Regions from separate parts of the Homo sapiens genome. Here region 2 is linked to region 1. Evidence: promoter capture Hi-C in human tissues and cell types (Jung and others, 2019). All regions are on one chromosome and are shown on one strand. The core of a region is centred on a gene start or on the middle of the fragment in contact, and the rest is flanking DNA. Distances in the headings are between cores, read along the strand shown. Region 1 holds the start of A4GNT (alpha-1,4-N-acetylglucosaminyltransferase). Region 2 overlaps NME9 (NME/NM23 family member 9).

Region 1 (5,771 bases), core at 1,589-4,088:
CTGGTCTGCCCTTTTTTTTTTTTTTTTTAACACTAGTTCCAAACATCCAAGTATAATAGAAAAACGCTGAATTCAGAGGTTTTGTCTTATCCTGTTAATTTATTTGGGGCCACATCAATTCACATTTCCTAAGTTCTCATCAGTCAGCAACAATTGCCCAGGCTCCATAGTCTGTTGGATTGACCAAGTCTGGCTTACATTATAATGGAGGAAGCAAGAACTCTTCACACGACTCAGAAATTCCTAGGAAAGTAGACAACACCTGAATGCATATGTGACTGCCATCGCTGTATTCAGACACATCCATTGCTCAAAGACAAGTAGTTCTTTGTACATCTCTACTCAGATATCTACATTGGGGTTCCTAGGGGTTGCTTGGCTAGTTGGAGAAGGCCTGAGATTGTGTAGTGAAGAAATCCAGAAGAATTTTGAGCAGAGTTAGTGTCAAGGAGGGTCAGGGAGCAGGGACATTTCTTAGGGAAGGTGATATGTAGGAAAAGGTATGGACAAGTGACATCCTGGGTTAAGGTACTGATGTAAAATATGGTGCCAGGGTTCAGGGTCTCCTGAAGCCCATCCTTGGAGCTTCTAGGGATCTGTAAAGTCCAGGTTAAGAGCTGCTGCTGTGACACCTGCCTGAACAGACAGAAGTTAGTGTGGTATAGGCCAGGAAAGGCAGAAAGGGGTGCAGAAGGAAGGGAAAGTAGTTCTGTTTCTCAAACCAAAGGGAATGCTGAAGGATGGATGTTGGGGGCCCTGAGAAGTTCCAGGTAGAGTGGCTCAGATGACAGGAGGCCTTCTCAGAAAGACACAGGAAGGACTTTGGGCTATGAACCTACAGAGGCTCCAAGTACCAGTGACCTGGCTTCTGAACGCATCTCATCAACTCTTATACAGGGTTGAAGATTTCCCTCTTAAAAGTTCACTGGGGACCAGGCGCGGTGGCTCATGCCTGTAATCCCAGCACTTTGGGAGGCCAAAGTGGGCGGATCACTTGAGGTCAGGAGTTCGAGACCAGCCTGGCCAATATGGTGAAACCCTGTCTCTACTAAAAATACAAAGATTATCTAGGAATGGTGGCACATGCCTGTAGTCCCAGCTACTTGGGAGGCCAAGGAAGGAGAATCACTTGAACCAGGGAGGCAGAGGTTGCAGTGAGCCAAGATCACACCACAGCACTCCAGCCTGTGCAACAGAGGGAGACTCTGTCTCAAAAAAAAACAAAAAAAAAAAAAACAAGGTTAGAATAGGGAATAGATTTCACTCATCTGAACAAAACAAAACAACTTAATGTTTGTTATCAGGGAGTACAAATACCATCCATATTGATATAATTCTATTTTTCTCTTCTATTTTCCTTGGTAGAAAGTGACAATAACTTCTTTGGTTTAAAGAGAACTTTCATTCTCACAGTGAGCCTGAGGTCGGTCATTTTCTGCACTTTTCAAGGGAGTTGAGGCTCTGGGCAGTTTAGGGGCTTGTCTAGTGCCCTCAGCCTGTGGTGGCTGGAGGCATAACTCCAAGCTCAGTGCTACTTCCATCATGCTTTCTACTTGGTTCTTGGTCAGATAGGTCCTACTTTTGTGCTTGGGATTTCACTGCATTGCTGATGCTCACATTCATCCTCACCTGACAAAGGCCATTAACTACATCACTGATCTCTGCCTTGACCACTTGTTCAATAGTTTTAGCCACTGGGCTAGCAGTTGGGAGGCACTAAGATATGTGACCCACCTGAGGCCCAGGAATGTGTTATCACTCCCACAGATGGGGTCCTCTAGTTACCCCTGGGCAAGGAGCAGGAGCACTAATCTCCACTCCCCTTCATAGGAAAGAACAACCAATCTGTCCAATTACAGAGAACTTTGGAAAGATGCCAAGGCACTCTGAGCCCAGAATTAATGAGGTCCAGAGAAGAAATTCAGCTCCAAAAGGAAGAGGTTTGTGGAGACCTACAAGCTGTTTCTGGGGTCCTTGGACACATAGAAAACCAGAAGCCATCAATGAGTGGGGCAGCTTTAACTCCCTTCATGTAGGACCTGCTATGTTAGAATCTAAAGTCTGCTCAGGAGCAGGCCTACCTGCTCACACTAGAGCATCCAGGGGGAACTGTGAATACCTGCTCATGGCCAAGACAGGTGACTCTCAGCAGAGGATGGCTCCAAAGAAGATTGCTAAGAGCTCATTTCAGGGGCGGTGGAGAATAGGCCACAGGTGAGTGCTAACACCTTGGGAAATGTGGGGACTGCCACATCAGTGGAGGACAACAAAGCTGGCTTCCTGAGACTGGGACGAGGCTTATACCCCATAAGGGGGACCTTGGGGAAAAAGGAGCCTTCCTGCAGCCACTGTGACTGACACTGGGGAATCACTTCTCATTCTAGATCACTGGGCCTTTGGACTGCAGGGCTTTGTTCATTGCTTATTTGTGGTGATGGGCTCTCTTTCCTTTTAATCAAACTTTGTGCTTGCAAAGGGGAGTTTGTACCACCTTACAGGGTCTCTGTCCATAATTTTGATTCAAGCTAAACTGATCAAGTGCAGGATATGTTGGCTCCAAGGTTATGCCAGGATACAGTTTTCTCCAGGTGAAATAATCCCTTTATAACCCCCATAATAGATCCACAAACAGGCAGGATTAGTGTGTGGGTCACCTTAAAAATCTGGTAAACCCCTCTTGTTCCCAAGTGGCTGTGTTTGGGAGAACTTAGTAAAGGGAGGAGCTTCCTGGGAACTTTTTGTGTTTAGTCTCAATCTGCCAATGATTTACTTACCCCTGTGTTGTTGAGTTGGAAGATTGGGTGGTGATTTATCAGAAAGTGTAGCAGGAAGAACTTGTCATTTCTAAGACCTCAAATACTGGTTAACTGCATTTGCAGCTAGAAGTTAGGCTCTGATTCACTGTTTTGTATTTTCTAAAAGGGTTATATGTAATTTGAAAGATAGACCTGCCAAGACGTGAGATCTGTGTTCTCCTTGGTTAGAGCTAACATTTTTGGTGAGGAAAGCACTGCAGGTAACGGTTCAGAGCCTGGACTTTGGTGGCAGGTGGATGCAAGTTACAGTCACAGCTCTGCTACTTGCTAATCGTGTGATCTTGGCAATTTATTTAACTCTTTAGCCTTCAGTTTGCTTCCTTTGTTAATTTTTTTTCTTAGTTCTATTAGTTTTTCAGTTATGTTTTCTGAACCTAGAGATACTTTTGCCTCTTTTAATATTCGTAGTAGAAATTCATTTCTCTTGTTTTATTGCATTGGTTACAATTATCAGATTGTAACCAATGATGTCAGTGACAATGACAATGGACATTCATATCATATTCCTGATCTTAATGGGATGTTTCAAATGTTTCATATTAAGTATGATAATTGCTATATGTTCTGGTAGACATTGTTTAAAATCAGCTTAAGAAAGTTTCCTTGTACTTTAAAAAAATTGTGAATGGATCTTAAAGTTAGTCACATTCTTGGCATCTCTTGAGCCAAAATGATCATATGGCTTTTCTTCTTTAGACTGTTAAGATAATGCATTTTATCAATAGTTTTCCCTATTAACTAATTATTTTTAATGTCAAATCATTTTAAAATCTAAGATAAATCCTGATTGGTTATGATGCATTTTTCTTTCTCACATATTTCTTGTCTTTTTCTTTTTCTTTTTTTTTAAATTTTTGTGATGATTTTCACTATGCTGCCCAAGCTAGTCTTGAACTCTTGGACTCAGGGGATCCTCCTGCCTCAGCCTCCCTAGTAGTTGGGACTACAGGCATATGCCACCATGCCTGGCTGCATTTTTTTTTTAATATTGCTGGACTTGATTTCATCATATTTTATTTAGGATATTTAAAATTTAAGTTTTTAAATGATATTCATGTATCATTTTCTTGTGTGCTATCTTTGTCAGGTTTTGCAGCTGTGATTTTTAATTAATTGTGTTGATTTAAAGGAGCAGGCTGGCACAGAGAAGAGGACATGCGGAAGGAGCTCCAGCTCTCCCTGTCAGTCACCTTGCTGCTTGTCTGTGGCTTCCTCTACCAGTTCACCCTGAAGTCCAGCTGCCTCTTCTGTTTGCCTTCTTTCAAGTCCCACCAGGGGCTGGAAGCCCTCCTGAGCCACAGACGTGGCATTGTGTTTCTAGAGACCTCAGAGAGAATGGAGCCACCCCATTTGGTCTCCTGTTCCGTAGAGTCTGCTGCCAAGATTTATCCTGAGTGGCCTGTGGTGTTCTTTATGAAGGGTCTTACTGATTCCACACCGATGCCCTCAAACTCCACATACCCAGCTTTTTCCTTCCTGTCAGCAATAGACAACGTTTTCCTCTTCCCTTTGGATATGAAAAGGCTGCTTGAAGACACACCATTGTTTTCATGGTACAATCAAGTAAGTGTTTAGGGAAACTTAAAATGTCAACGAATTGTATATATGGGTAAACTGAGGGTAAGGACTCAGGTCGGAGATGGGAATAGAACCCACATTTGGGTTGACTCTCATTTGGCCCTCTTTTTACCATGTTGAGAACTGATTCAAATAAAGAGGGAAGACTTACATTAGGTGCATCTTTATTCTGCTGTCTTTTGCTTCTAGCCTTATTTCTTTTAGGATCTTGGTTACTTTGGAGACTATTCTTAACTGAATGAGTTTTTATATCTTTTCTAGGTGTATAGGACACTTATTTTTCACTACAGTTTTAAATCCACTTATGTTAAACTTTATTTTTTTTTTCACCTAAAGTGGAAACCAGGCAATATTTAACATGAAAATGATGTAAGTAGAAAATTCATGAAGGATGGATGAAATGCTGCGATATGAGATTGGGTTGTATTAAGATATGATTGAGAAACTCCTGGAGCTTAGAGGAATTTTGTAATCCCCAAGTTTGTAGTGAACCAGAATAAGGGAATAATGTGCCAGTCTAATATTTCTCTTATAGAGGAGCTGAAATCAGGTTGCTTAAAGAAATTATAGTACAACAACTCAATGATTCCATTATGCAGGCTTTAACTATAATTTTTTAAAACTGACATCCTATGAAGACTATAACACAATATGGAATTAAAACCACCTTATGTCATAATGTAATTATAATAGTTATAACGATTTAAGTTATGCAAAAACCCACACACATCTATTGAAAAAAAAAAAGACCTGAAAGAACTCTACAACACACAATAATAGTAGGTGTTTTCGTATAATTGGATTAGGAGTGAATTTAGTGATGAGAATGTGTTGATTTTATAAATAACATTATTTTAGAAAACAAAAAGTAATCTAAACATTGACATAAAAATAATACTATTCACACTGGGTGTGCTGGCATGCACCTGTAGTCTCAGCTACTCCAGAGACCAAGGCAGGAGGATCGCTGGAGCCCAGGAGTTCAAAGGCCAGCCTGGGCAACATAGCGAGACTCTGTCTCAAACAAACACACAAGCAAAAATAATACTATTTGCTTGCCACATAAAGTTCTGTCTAAATTCTAATCATAGGCTGTAGCAAATATTACCAAACTTTTTTTTCTGTGTAGGGCCAGATAGTAAATATTTTCGGCCTTGTGGGCTAAGGTGGTAAAATTGAGGATATTATGAAGGTACTTGTGGTAGTTTCTTCCGTCTGTTGTAACAAATTACCACCAACCTGGTGGCATAAAACAACAGAAATTCATTCTCTCACAGTTCTGGAGGCCAGAAGTCCCAGATTATTTTCACTGGGCCAATATCAAACTGCTGGCAGGGCTGCATTTCCTCCTGAGTTCCTAGGGAAGGATGATCCCTT
Region 2 (5,771 bases), core at 1,028-3,527, 180 kb before region 1:
GAGCAATCTGAACTATGAGAAGATTTTTTAATGGTTCATAATTTTCTTTTAAAAATTGATATATAATAGATGTGCATATTTTCAGAGTACATAAGATAATTTGATACACTCATATAATTAAATCAGGGTAATTGGGATATCCATCACCTTAAATATTTATCTTTTCTTTATGCTATGGATATCCAAATTATTTTCTTCTAGCTATTTTGAAATGTACAAAAGATTAATGTTAACTATATTCACCCTACTGATTTCTTGAATACCAGGTCTGATTTCTTCTGTCTATCTGTAGATTGTACCTATTAATCAACCTCTCTTCATTCCTCTCTCTCCACTTCCTGGCCTCTGGTAATCACCAATCTACTCTCTATCTTCATGAGATCCATTTTTTAAGTTCCCACATATGAGTAAGAACATGTGCTATTTGTTGTTCTTTGCTTGGGGGCTTATTTCACTTAACATAATGATCTCCAGTTCTATCCATGTTGCCACAAATGACAGGATTTTAATCTTTTAAATTAATGAATAATATTCCCTTGTGTATATACACCACATTTTCTTTATTCATCCATTGATGGGCACTTAGGTTGATTCCATATTTTGGCTACCGTGAATACTGCTGCAATAAACACGGGAGTGCAGATATCTCTTGATTTCCTCTCTTTTGGATATATACATAGTAGTGGGATTGTTGGATCATATGGTAGCTCTAGTTTTGTTTTTTCAGGGACCTCCATACTGTTTTCTATAGTGGCTGTGCTAATTTACATTCATACCAGCAGTATATGAACATTCCCCTTTCTCTACATCCTCACCTCATTATTCTTTTTTTTGTTTTGCTTTGTTTTGTTTTGAGACAGAGTCTCCCTCTGTCGCCCAGGTTGGAGTGCAGTGGTGTGATCTTGGCTCACTGCAACCTCTGCCTCCCAGGTTCAAGCAATTCTCGTGCCTCAGCCTCCCTGAGTAGCTGGGATTACAAGCACCCGCCACCACACCTGGCTAATTTTTACATTTTTAGTAGAGACTGGATTTCGCCATGTTGGCCAGGCTGGTTTTGAACTCCTGACATCAGGTGATCCACCCGCCTTGGCCTCCCAAAGTGCTGGGATTACAGGCGTGAGCCACCACACCTGGCCTCCCTTTTTTTTCTTAATAGTCCCCATTCTAACTGGGGTGAGATGACATCTTATTGTGATTTTATGATTTGCATTTCCCTGATGATTAGTGATATTGAGCACCTTTTTCATATACCCACTGGCCATTTTTATGTCTTTTTTTGGAGAAATGTCTACTCAGCTCTTTTGCCCATTTAAAAATCAGATTATTTTTCTTTTTGCTTTTAAGTTGTTTGAGCTCCTTATATATTCTGGTTATTAATCCCTTGTCGGAGGGATAGTTTGCAAATATTTTCTCCCACTCTGTGGGTTGTCTCTTCACTTTGTTGATTGTGTCCTTTGCTTTGCAGAAGCTTCTTTGCTTGATGTGATCTCATTTATCTATTTTTGCTTTTGTTGCCTATGCTTTTGAGGTCTTACACAAAAAATCTTTGTTCAGACCAATATCCTGGAGCATTTCCCCAATGTTGTCTTTTGATAGTTTCATAGTATCAGGTCTTAGAATTATGCCTTTAATCTATTTTGATTTTGTATTTGTATATGGTGAGAAATAGGGGTGTAATTTCATTCTTCTGCATATGGTTATTCAGTTTAACCAGCACCATTTATTGAAGAGAATGTCCTTTTCACCATTGTATGTTCTTGGCACCTTTGTTGAAAATGAGCTGGCTATAAATGTGTGGATTTACATCTGGGTTCGCTATTCTGTGTCTGTTTTTATGCTAGTATTTTGCTGTTTTGGTCACTATAGCTTTGTAGTATAATCTGAAGTCAGGTAGTGTGATGCCTCCAGGTTTGTTATTTTTGCTCAGGATGGCTTTGGTTATTTGGGGTCTTTTGTGGTTCCATATAAATTTTAGGATTGTATTTTCTATTTCTGAGAAGAATGTCTTTGGTATTTTGATAGGGATTGCATTGAATCTGTAAATTGCCTTGGGCACTATTAACATTTTAACAATATTAATTCTCCCAATCCATCAGCATGGAATATCTTTCCATTTGTGTGTGTGTGTGTCCTCTTCAATTTCTTTCATCAGTGTATCATAGTTTTCCTTGTAGAGAGCTTTCACATCTTTTGGTTAAATTGAAGTCTACATTTTTATATTCTTTGTAGCTATTGTAAATGTGATTGCTTTCTTGGTTTCTTTTTCAGATTGTTTGCTGTTGGTATATACATATGCTACGGGTTTTTGTATGTTGATTTTGTATCCTGCAACTTCACTGATTTCGTTTATCAGTTCTAACAGTTTTTTGGTGGGGTCTTTGAATTAAAGTGGTAAAAGCAGGCATCCTTGTCTTATTCGAGATTTTTGAGGGAAGGCTTTGAAATTTTCCCCATTCACTATGATGCTGGCTGTGGGTTTGTTATACATGGCTTTTATTGTTTTGAGGTATGTTCCTTCTATACCCAGTGTTTTGAAGGTTTTTTATCATAAAGGGAATTCAAATTTTATTGAATGGTTTTTCAGCATCTATTGGAATGATTATATGGTTTTTGTTCTTGGTTCTGTTAATGATTTGATGAATCACATTTATTGATTTACATATGATGAACCCTTTTTACATCCCTGGGATGAATCCCACATAGTGAATGATCTTTTTGATGTGTTGTTGAAGTTGGTTTGTTAGTATTTTGTTTAGGACTTTTTCATCTATGTTCTTCAAGGATATTGGCCTGGTTTTCTCGTTTTGTTGTGTCCTTGTCTGGTTTTGCTATCAGGGCAATTCTGGCCTCACAGAATGAGTTTGGAAGTTTCCCCTCCTCTTCAAATTTTTTTGAAGAGTTTGAGTATAATTGGTATTAGTTATTCTTTAAATGTTTGGTAGAATTTAGAATTGAAGCCATCAGGTCCTGAGATTTTCTTTGGCAGAAGACTTTTTATTACAGTTGTGATCTTGTTATTTGTTATTGGTTTGTTGAGGTTTTCTATTTCTTCATGGTTCAATCTTGGTAGACTGCATATATCCAGGAATTTATCTATTTCTTTTAGGTTTTCAAATTTGTTGGTGTATAGTTGTTCATAACAGTGTCTAATGATTCTTTATATTTCTGTGGTTTCCAGTTGTTATGTCTCCATTTTCTTTCTGATTTTATTTGGGTCATCTCTTTTTCTTAGTCTAGCTAAAGTTTCGTTGATTTTATCTTTTCAAAAAATCAACTTTTTGCTTCATTGATCTTCTGTATTTTTTAGGCTCAATTTCATTTATTTCTGCTCTGATCTTTATTATTTGCTTCCTAGTACTAATTGGGGGTTTGGTTATTGCTTTTTTAGCGCATTTGGGTGCATCCATTCGGTTATTTGAAGTCTTCCTACGTTTTTTGATGTAAGCATTTATTGCTACAAACTTCCCCTTTACTGTATTACTCCTTTTACTGTATCCTGTAGATTTTGGATGTGTATTTCCGTTTTCATTTGTTTCAAGAAATTAAAAATTTCCCTTTTTAATTTATTCTCTGATGCATTTGTTGTTCATGAGTATGTTGTCTAATTTTCATGTGTTTGTGTAGTTTCTGAGGTTCCTCTTACTATTGATTTCTAATTTTATTTCACTGTGGTCAGAAAAGATATATATGATTTCTGCTTTTTTAAATTTGTTGTGACTAGTTTTGTGGCTTATAATTTGCTCTATTCTGGAGAATATTCCACATGCTGATGAAAATAATGTCTTTTCTGTAGCAGTTGGGTGAAATCTTCTGTAAATATCAGTTAGGTCTGTTTGGTCTAGTATGCAGTTTGACTATGACGTTTGTCTTCTGCCTGAATGATCTGTCCATCACTAACAGTAGGGTGTTGAAGTCCCCTATGTATTGTAGTATTGTATTACTGTATTGCAGTCTATCTTTCCCTTTAGATCTATTAATGTTTGTTTTATATACTTGAGTGTTCTGGTGTTGGGTAGATATTTATAATTGTTACTCTTGATGAACTGACTCCTTTATCATTATATAGTGACCTTCTCTAAGTATATTTTCTCTTGCTCTCTTTTGGTTTCCACTTGCAATGAATATCTTTTTCCATGCCTTCACTTTCAGTCTATGTGTCTTTATAGGTAAAGTGGGTTTCTTGTAGGCAGCATATAGTTGGGTCTTGGTTTCTTTTCTTTTTTTTTTTTGAGATGGAGTTTCACTCGTCGCCCAGGCTAGCATGATCTTGGCTCACTGCAACCTCCACCTCCTGGGTTCAAGCGATTCTCCTGCCTCAGCCTCCCAATTAGCTGGGATTACAGGCATGGACCACCACACCTGGCTAATTTTGTATTTTTAGTAGAGATGGGGTTTCTCCATGTTGGTCAGGCTGGTCTGGAACTCCCGACCTCAGGTGATCTGCCTGCCTTGGCCTCCCAAAGTCTTGGGATTACAGGCATGAGCCACTGCATCTGGCTTTTTTTTTTCTTTTGAGACAGTCTAGCTCTGTCACCCAGGCTGGAGTGCAGTGGCATGATCTTGGCTCACTCTAGTTCTGTCACCCAGGCTGGAGTGCAATGGTGCGATTTTAGCTTACTGCAACCTCCGCCTCCTGGGCTCAGGTGATTCTCATGCCTCAGCCTCCTGGGTAGCTGGGATTACAGGCGTGTGCCACCATGCCCAACTAATTTTTGTATTTTTAGTAGAGACAGGGTTTCACCATGTTGGCCAGGTTGGTCTTGATCTCCTAGCCTCGAGTGATCCACTTGCCTTGGCCTCCCAAAATGCTGGGATTATAGGCGTGAGCCACTGTGCCCAGCCAACAGTGGGTTTTATACCTCAAATGTCTTCTTTTTGCATATTAGTATTTTTTTCTTTCAGATTAAAGATTTCCTTAGGCATTCCTTCTTTTTTTTTTTTTGTTTGAGATGAAGTCTCACTCTGTCAACCAGGCTGAAGTGCAGTGGCACAATCTTGGCTCACTGCAACCTCTGCCTCCTGGGTTCAAGTGATTCTCCTGCTGCCTCAGCCTCCCCAGTAGCTGGGATTACAGGCATGTGCCACCACACCTAGCTAATTTTTTTTTTGTATTTTTAGTAGAAACAGGGTTTTGCCCTGTTGGTCAGGCTGGTCTTGAACCCCTGATGTCAGGTGATCTGCCCACCTCAGCCTCCCAAAGTGCTGGGCCACCATGCCTGGCCTGCCTTCATATTTGAAGGATAGCTTTGCTGGGTACAGTATTCTTGGATGACAGTTTTTTTTTTTTTTTTTTTTTTTTCTTTCAGTATTTTGGAAATGTCATTCCACTGCCTCCTGGCCTATATAGTTTCTATTGAGAAGCCTGTTGCTAGATAAATTGGAAAGACTCTGGGAAGCTTAACCATAAAATATTTTGTCTCCAGTCACTTGACTTCAAACATACTGTGTCAAATATCTTTTTGGATCTTTATCAGCATTTTGGGCACATTTCACAGCATTTTATGTTCAAATATAACACGTGTGACTTTCATCGCAATTACCAGGCATCAAAAAAGCTGCATGTAATAAAATGGAGGGTAGCAACACCAATAATCGAAAGCAATGATGCTGTTATTTCCTTAGTTCTTATTTGAACTTTTTAAAAAAGCTCAAGCTTCTTTTTTCACCTCTTTCTTAAATGTTAGAAAACCTTTCCTTCCCAGAGCCCTACAACCTCTTTCCTGTGTTCCCCAAATATTAACTTGCAGATTTTACACTCCTGGGTATCACAG

Evidence for each region. Contacts are between HindIII fragments. The study calls those that stand out against the background at their distance.
Region 2: a contact is called between a fragment that was not itself captured here and the fragment with the promoter of A4GNT in region 1, in 3 of the 25 tissues and cell types used here (aorta, spleen and thymus).

Annotation. Positions count from the first base shown.
Region 1 is chr3:138,129,457-138,135,227 of GRCh38, reverse strand. A4GNT (alpha-1,4-N-acetylglucosaminyltransferase) reads left to right here and starts at 2,838. Exons shown (of 3, transcript NM_016161.3): 1 at 2,838-3,016; 2 at 3,946-4,379. The coding sequence starts at 3,972. The HindIII fragment of the contact is 13,843 bases long and covers 1-5,771 here.
Region 2 is chr3:138,308,474-138,314,244 of GRCh38, reverse strand. The region is part of intron 6 of NME9 (NME/NM23 family member 9); the gene reads left to right. Among named protein-coding and RNA genes, the nearest start is that of NME9, 18 kb to the left of the region's middle. The HindIII fragment of the contact is 7,325 bases long and covers 1-5,771 here.